Regions from separate parts of the Homo sapiens genome. Here region 2 is linked to region 1. Evidence: promoter capture Hi-C in human tissues and cell types (Jung and others, 2019). All regions are on one chromosome and are shown on one strand. Each heading gives the region's core, a stretch centred on a gene start or on the middle of the fragment in contact. The rest is flanking DNA. Distances are from core to core; before and after follow the strand shown.

Region 1 (3,494 bases), core at 258-2,757:
ATGTTCTCCTTTCTGCCACATTACCCCTCCCTTCACAGTGTAAAGGGATGGATAGGAGCAGGCTCTCTCCCTGGCCTCCACACAGGGAGGACGGAAAAGCATTAGAGTTGAGTTCCTGCCCTCTACAGCTCTGCGACTGGAGGAAAGTTAACTTAGATTAGCCCCCTCATCTGAACATACAAACTCTACTCACCTCACATGGCTTAGTGAGGACTAAATGCTTCCACATGTGAGTCACTCAACACAGGTTCTCTCATGAAAGACCAGTACAAAATAAACTAGGGGGTGGGGGGCTGGAGAAGAAAAGTCCCTTTTCTTGAATTCTTTAAAGATCTCTCAGCCATCTTTGCTTTCCTATCTCTTCCTCAATGATGTTCAGAGTTTGAGGATACTAAAAAGTCTTCACTTCCCAACCATGGGCCTGCTTATCTGAGGATCCCAGAGGGGCTTAGATTTGGGGAAAGCAAATTTGGCGGAAGTCATTGAGCAATATAGGGGAGGAGGGAGCAGTGATCTTATGAATCCCAGGACAGGAAGCCTAGTTCTGGGAGACGGGGAAAAAAACGCCTAGATAGGTACCGAAAAGAGGTTTCACTAAATGAAAAGAGGTACTTTTCCCCCCAAATTATTCCCTAACCACCTGAGCAGAAGAACAACCAAAACCTAAAACTTTTAATGACTTGAAACACTCTGAGGGGTGCTGGCAAGGACTGAGGGATCTTACCCAAAACCCTAAAGACAGAGGAATTAATTTCTCACCTGGAAGAAGCCACGTCCTGCCCTGTTCTGCTCTAGGATAAGGCTGAACCCTCCCAAGGTTAATAAAAAAGACAAGGAGAGTCAGCAAAGGATGGGTTACAGAGCCCTGGGACTACAGTAACAACTCATCGTTGGTGACACCGAGGTGACATGTTTAGTCAGTCGCACTATGAAGCAGGTGTCACAGGGACACCTGATCTCTCAGCTCTTGGGATAGGGAGGGAAAATGTTTAAGAAAGAGGGTGGGTGCAAGGCAAGGCTGAAAGGTACTAAGACACCTCACTGGACCCAAAGTCCCAGTCCTCTGCTTACCCGAATTTCTGGCCAAGCTCAGGGCTAGAAGGGGTGGCGTGGCTGGGGGGCAGGGAGGTTCTGAAGCGGGACTCCCAGGAACCTCTCCCGCTGGGCTAGCGGGTGAGACCGGGCGGTCCATCTGGAGAACATCGCTCCACTGAGGAGTGCCAACGGGTCCCTCCCAGAAGCGGTCAAGCAGATAGGCCGGGAGCTACTGGGGGAAAAGGGCAGTGTGCCGGGGCCACTCCTGCCCCGGGAAGCTGTGGACGCAGGCGGGGTGGGCTCACCTCCGAGGCAGCTCGCGCGGACTCCCCGGGGCAGGGCTGGGTCACCGGAGCCCCTGAGCTGCAGCTCCGGGCGCTGGACCTCAGAAGCCGCCGCAGCATCCGGGACAGTGGCCGCGCCGCCATGAAGCCTGATACGAGCGGAACCGCAGCCCGCTTCGGGAGCACACTGGCCGGGCACTCGCCCCCGGGGTCATCCCAGCAAGGGCGGGGAGGGGCAGGGGGAGGGCGGGACCCGCGCAGCCAATAGGCGAGGACGCAGTCCCGCGTGGCCTTGTGGGAGCTGTAGTACGCTCCCTGTGCCCACTTTCCTGGGCCGGGGTAGCGCTCTAGGGCAGAAGGGTAAACTCAGGTAAGGAACGGGGTTCTTTTCCTTCCAGTTTTTCTGGCTGCTCTAGTCTCAGATTTAGGTCGTGGTGTGACAGTAGGCAGGACAGGACAAGGGCCAAACGAATGAGGCACTGCCTTGGATGCAAAATTTAAGAGGGTGCCAGGTAAACTGCGGTTATCAAAGTAAGTAATTTTTTAATGTAATATTTCAAAAAATCGTAATAAATTTTCAGAAGTCCGTGAAATATCAACATTCTAAATAAAAAGATTTAGCCTACACTTGCATGACTCACATCACTCAGTGCACCATAGTGCAGATTGTGGTTGTAAAACGGTCAGTTAGGTCTTTCAAGATACACTTCTCCAGTTGTGCCCCAAAAGGATATTAACAATCTTTTTTTTTTTTTTTTTTTTCGTGGAGAAGGCAAGAGTATATGAGAAGTCACAGAATGAGTGGACAACATTTTTGAAATGCTTCTTATACACCAAGCACCATGCTAAATGTTATTTAAAACAATCCTGGTATGAATAGAATGTCCTTTTTGCAACTGAGGACATTGAGGCTTAGAGAGACCAGGTAATTTTCTCGAAGTCACACAGCTGATAGTGGGTTTCAAACCCAGGGCAATCTGCTTTCTACAGTCATTCAGTCAAGATTCAGTATGTGTTAGGAATGGTGGGGTGTGCCTCTTCCTCTCTATAAAAAGCAGAGTGCTGTAGTCCTTTAAGATTTTGGATAACACACACAATAATGAGCTTATGTACTAAGAATAATTATGCTCAAACCAGCCTGTTGTATCCAAAACCCTGTCCCTGTGGAATTGCAAGAATAAAACACCGGCTGGAACATACAGCTGCCAAGTGCATGCTTAGGAAGTGGGAATATAGCTCCTGATCTTGAAGAATTGACCGAATAGTGGGAGAGGAAAAAATAACTGAATATAACTGACTTTTACAAGTGCAGTGGGACTGTCAGAAAAGCTGAGATGATTTTAGCCTTAGATTCAATGTGAATTTCTCACAATGATACTCAAAATTCAGAAAATATATTGTAGGGGATGAAAGTGTATCTGGGGTGTGTTTGAAACTGATGAGACAAGTATGCCAGAGGTCTGTTTGCAAGGGGCCTGAAGACCAACTGAGGACTGTTCAAGCTCTGTCCACTGCTAAGTTTAGATATGTCTGGATTTATCAGGAAAACTGGGTATGGGGGAGAGAAGGATAAAAACTTTTTTTTTTTTTGTATGTATGAGGCTTGAAGAGCCTTCTAGAGAGGACTCAACCTCAGGGAAGAAGCCATCTGACATATGAACTTGATCCAAGAATGTCACCAGCTCCTTGGAGCCTCTCTAGATTCCACCCTCTTCATACAAGTTGTATGTGATCATCCCTTCACTTGGGCTTTACTGTCATCTTTTATAGAACTTGGGTCTCCAAGGCAAGACCTAAGGCTTACTCAGTTCTGTTTGAAGGCTGAAATCCTCTCCATATTATCATACATCTACTTGGACTCCTGTAGTGCTGGGAAACTTTCTGGCTTCCTGATGTTGTCTGGTCCACTTAAATGTTTCCCCACCTATTAAAGTTCTTACTTGTATTCAGCAAAAAAGTGCCCCTTTCTGTCAACATATGGTGATTAAGTGTCATCAGGGCCGAATCCTCTGCTAATGGCTGGGAATAAGGAAATACTTTCAAGGGCTCACAGCCTGCAGTAGGGCTCTGATGTGACAAGTCCATGGATTGATTTGGAGGGTTCTGTAGACCCCTGAACTTGAATGCATAATACTGTATTTTTTTTTCCTGGGGAATGGTGGCTTTTTGTCACAT
Region 2 (3,223 bases), core at 135-2,634, 310 kb after region 1:
TCTTTTTTCTTGAGCTGCAACATCTAGTTTTCCTGCTTTCAGATGTCAGAGCTCCTGATTCTCAGGCCTTCGGATTCTGACTGAATTATCCCACCAGCTTTCCTGGTTCTTCAGCCTGCAGATGGCAGATTGTGGGACTTCTCAGCATTCATAATCATGTGAGACACTTCCCATAGTAAATTTCCTATCTATCTATCTATCTATCTATCTATCTATCTATCTATCTATCTATCTATCTAGCAATCTAGCTAGCTAGCTATTCTATTGGTTGTTTCTCTGGAGAATGCTGACTTATACTGTCTCTTCACTAAATTTTCCCCAAGCAACCCAATTTCAGGGTGCCACCTGTTTGCTGTAAGGATACTGATGGATGCACCTCATTGCCTAAAATGGAGGCAGGGAAGTTCGCCAGCTAACTCACATATCAGCTTTACCTCAGTGATAGCCATGTCCCCAGTCACACCCTCCAAAAGTGATGTCTGTCTGTTGTCTTTTCTGGGTAAACGGGTGGTTGGTGTACTGGGGTAGGAAGAACAATTATTTTGGAGTCAGGAGTTCTGGGCTGTTGTCATTATTCTCCCACTGACTCATGGTGGGACCTGGAATAGTCCCTTCTCCTCTTTGAGTTTTATTTTGCTCCTCTGTGAAATGGTGCTGGCTGCCATGCTCAGTAACTCTTCTCATGATTGAAGTGCAGGATTCCTGTGTTAAATGCCCCCTCCTCACACCAGCCAGCCATATCCATACGGGACCATCCCTGGGCAGGGAATCCAACCACTCAGGCCTCACTGCTCCTCCCCATCCTGGGGACAAACAAGATCTTCCTTGGGTAACCTACAAACCACTCCTAGGACCTCAGGGAATAAAAGATATCTGTCATGGCTTTTGACGGCTCAGTGGGGAGAAGCAACACACTGTTATCTTCAGGGCTGGAAAGCAGGACTTGAGACTTTCCCTGGGAACACCCTGCTCCCACAGAAAGCCTTCTAGAGCTCAGAACTGCCCAGTAGGAGAAGGAATACCTATCTAAGTGTCTGAAGCTTCCCTGATACTGAACAGGATTCTTACTAACAAAATCAACCAACACATTCATGAAACAGAGCATTTTCATTTGTGAACAAGAAGTCTATAACTTTGTAGAAATCAATGAGCCAAAGCAATCAACTGAGTGGGCTTCTGAACCAAATCTCAGCCCCTTAAAGTAGGGTGGATGTTCTTGTCTGAAAGAGTTTTCCTTTCCCTTTCCATGTATTGAAGACGGTTGGATACTCAGGGAGTCAAGGAAATATATCAGTCAAGTTCTGTGAAAGAAATGGAAAACATCTCTAGGTATTTCAAATGGAAAGATATTAGAGGCATGGAATTAGGTGCCTAAAAATCTTTAGGAGGACTAGAACCCTATGGGTTTCAGGTTGGGTCCAGGGATGCCCCTTGGAACACTGCAAAGCTGACTTGTCAATGGAGCTGCTCCTTCTAGGGCACCTCTAAGCTGTTGAGTTTAAGATCACACTAAGCCATGATTCAGGGCTCAGGAATCCAGGAAAGCAACCCCACAGCTGTGCCCTGTGCCTGTCTGTTTTACTGCTCTCAAAGCTGGTGGGTGGGTCTGGAATGTGATTTTCAGCAACTGTGTCCACTACAACTGCTTCTCCACACCCAAAAAAAAGCGGGCACTGGGAAGCTGCTGCAGAGGAAAAATAAAAGCCACATCTCCTCAACCTCTCTTTCTAGCAGAAATATAATCAAAAGCAGCAGCAAGGTGGCCTCTACCTCACTTTGTCTCCCAAGTCTTATGTAAAAACATTTCATTAGAGAGCTTAATAGATACGTAGAAAAATCACTACAAAGAAGTCTGAGGAATAATGCCGCAATAAACATACGTGTGCATGTGTCTTTATAGCAGCATGATTTATAGTCCTTTGGGTATATACCCAGTAATGGGATGGCTGGGTCAAATGGTATTTCCAGTTCTAGATCCCTGAGGAATTGCCACACTGACTTCCACAATGGTTGAACTAGTTTACAGTCCCACCAACAGTGTAAAAGTGTTCCTATTTCTCCACATCCTCTCCAGCACCTGTTGTTTCCTGACTTTTTAATGATTGCCATTCTAACTGGTGCGGCATTATTCACAATAGCAAAGACTTGGAAACAACCCAAATGTCCAACAATGATAGACTGGATTAAGAAAATGTGGCACATATACACCATGGAATACTATGCAACCATAAAAAATGATGAGTTCATGTCCTTTGTAGGGACATGGATGAAATTGGAAATCATAATTCTCAGTAAACTATCGCAAGAACAAAAAACCAAACACCGCATATTCTCACTCATAGGTGGGAATTGAACAATGAGATCACATGGACACAGGAAGGGGAATATCACACTCTGGGGACTGTTGTGGGGTGGGGGGAGGGGGGAGGGATAGCATCAGGAGATATACCTAATGCTAGATGACGAGTTAGTGGGTGCAGCACACCAGCATGGCACATGTATACATATGTAACTAACCTGCACAATGGGCACATGTACCCTAAAACTTAAAGTATATTAAAAAAAAAAAGAAGTCTGAGGAATGTAATTCTTAGCTTTCCAGCCCTTAAAGTGCAAGAAGACAGCCTAGAAGAAGGGCAGGATGGAGGGCGAGCAAGCTGACCTGTAGTGCCCACACAGCAGGCCTTCCTAAATCAGAAGGAGACTGCTGGCCTCTTTCAAATTCCCTTTGGAGGTTGCCAATCATCTGACACCTCCCCCATTTTCCTCTCAGAAGGGACACGTGGAGACCTATACAGGTAGACTCAATAAGCCTCATTTCCATGCCATAAAAAATTGGACAATTATATGCAGATTTGGTTGAATAATGTTTTTCTGTGTGTTTGTGGAGGGGAGGACACTGAACACAAGATACTGACATTTTTGTTATCTAGAACAATGCTGATGTTCAACCACTCAAAAATTTAATGCTCCCAAGACAATATATACAGTCCTGGGTTTAAATCCCAACTCTGCCTCTATGTGACTCTAGACCAGTTGCTTGTATTCCCTGAGCTCTATTTTTTTCACCTGTAAAATGGGACTAATGATATTGACTTTATAGAATTGTAGTGAAGAGTAAATGAAATAAAACCCGTAAAGTGCCTGGTGGAGTGCTGAGCACACATGTACCGGGGGTCTAATGACTATCCGCATTGTCCTGTTTTATACATTTTGCGGTAAA

The links. The method cuts DNA at HindIII sites, captures the fragments that hold promoters and counts their contacts. A contact is called where the count stands out against the background at its distance.
Region 2: a contact is called between a fragment that was not itself captured here and the fragment with the promoter of MOCS1 in region 1, in 1 of the 25 tissues and cell types used here (mesendoderm cells).

Annotation. Positions count from the first base shown.
Region 1 is chr6:39,932,955-39,936,448 of GRCh38, forward strand. MOCS1 (molybdenum cofactor synthesis 1) reads right to left here and starts at 1,508. Exons shown (of 11, transcript NM_001358530.2): 1 at 1,341-1,508. The coding sequence starts at 1,463. LOC102723789 (a long non-coding RNA gene) reads left to right here and starts at 1,615. Exons shown (of 6, transcript XR_001744112.1): 1 at 1,615-1,689. The HindIII fragment of the contact is 11,059 bases long and covers 1-3,494 here.
Region 2 is chr6:40,243,347-40,246,569 of GRCh38, forward strand. No RefSeq gene overlaps it. Among named protein-coding and RNA genes, the nearest start is that of LINC00951, 110 kb to the right of the region's middle. The HindIII fragment of the contact is 7,594 bases long and covers 1-3,223 here.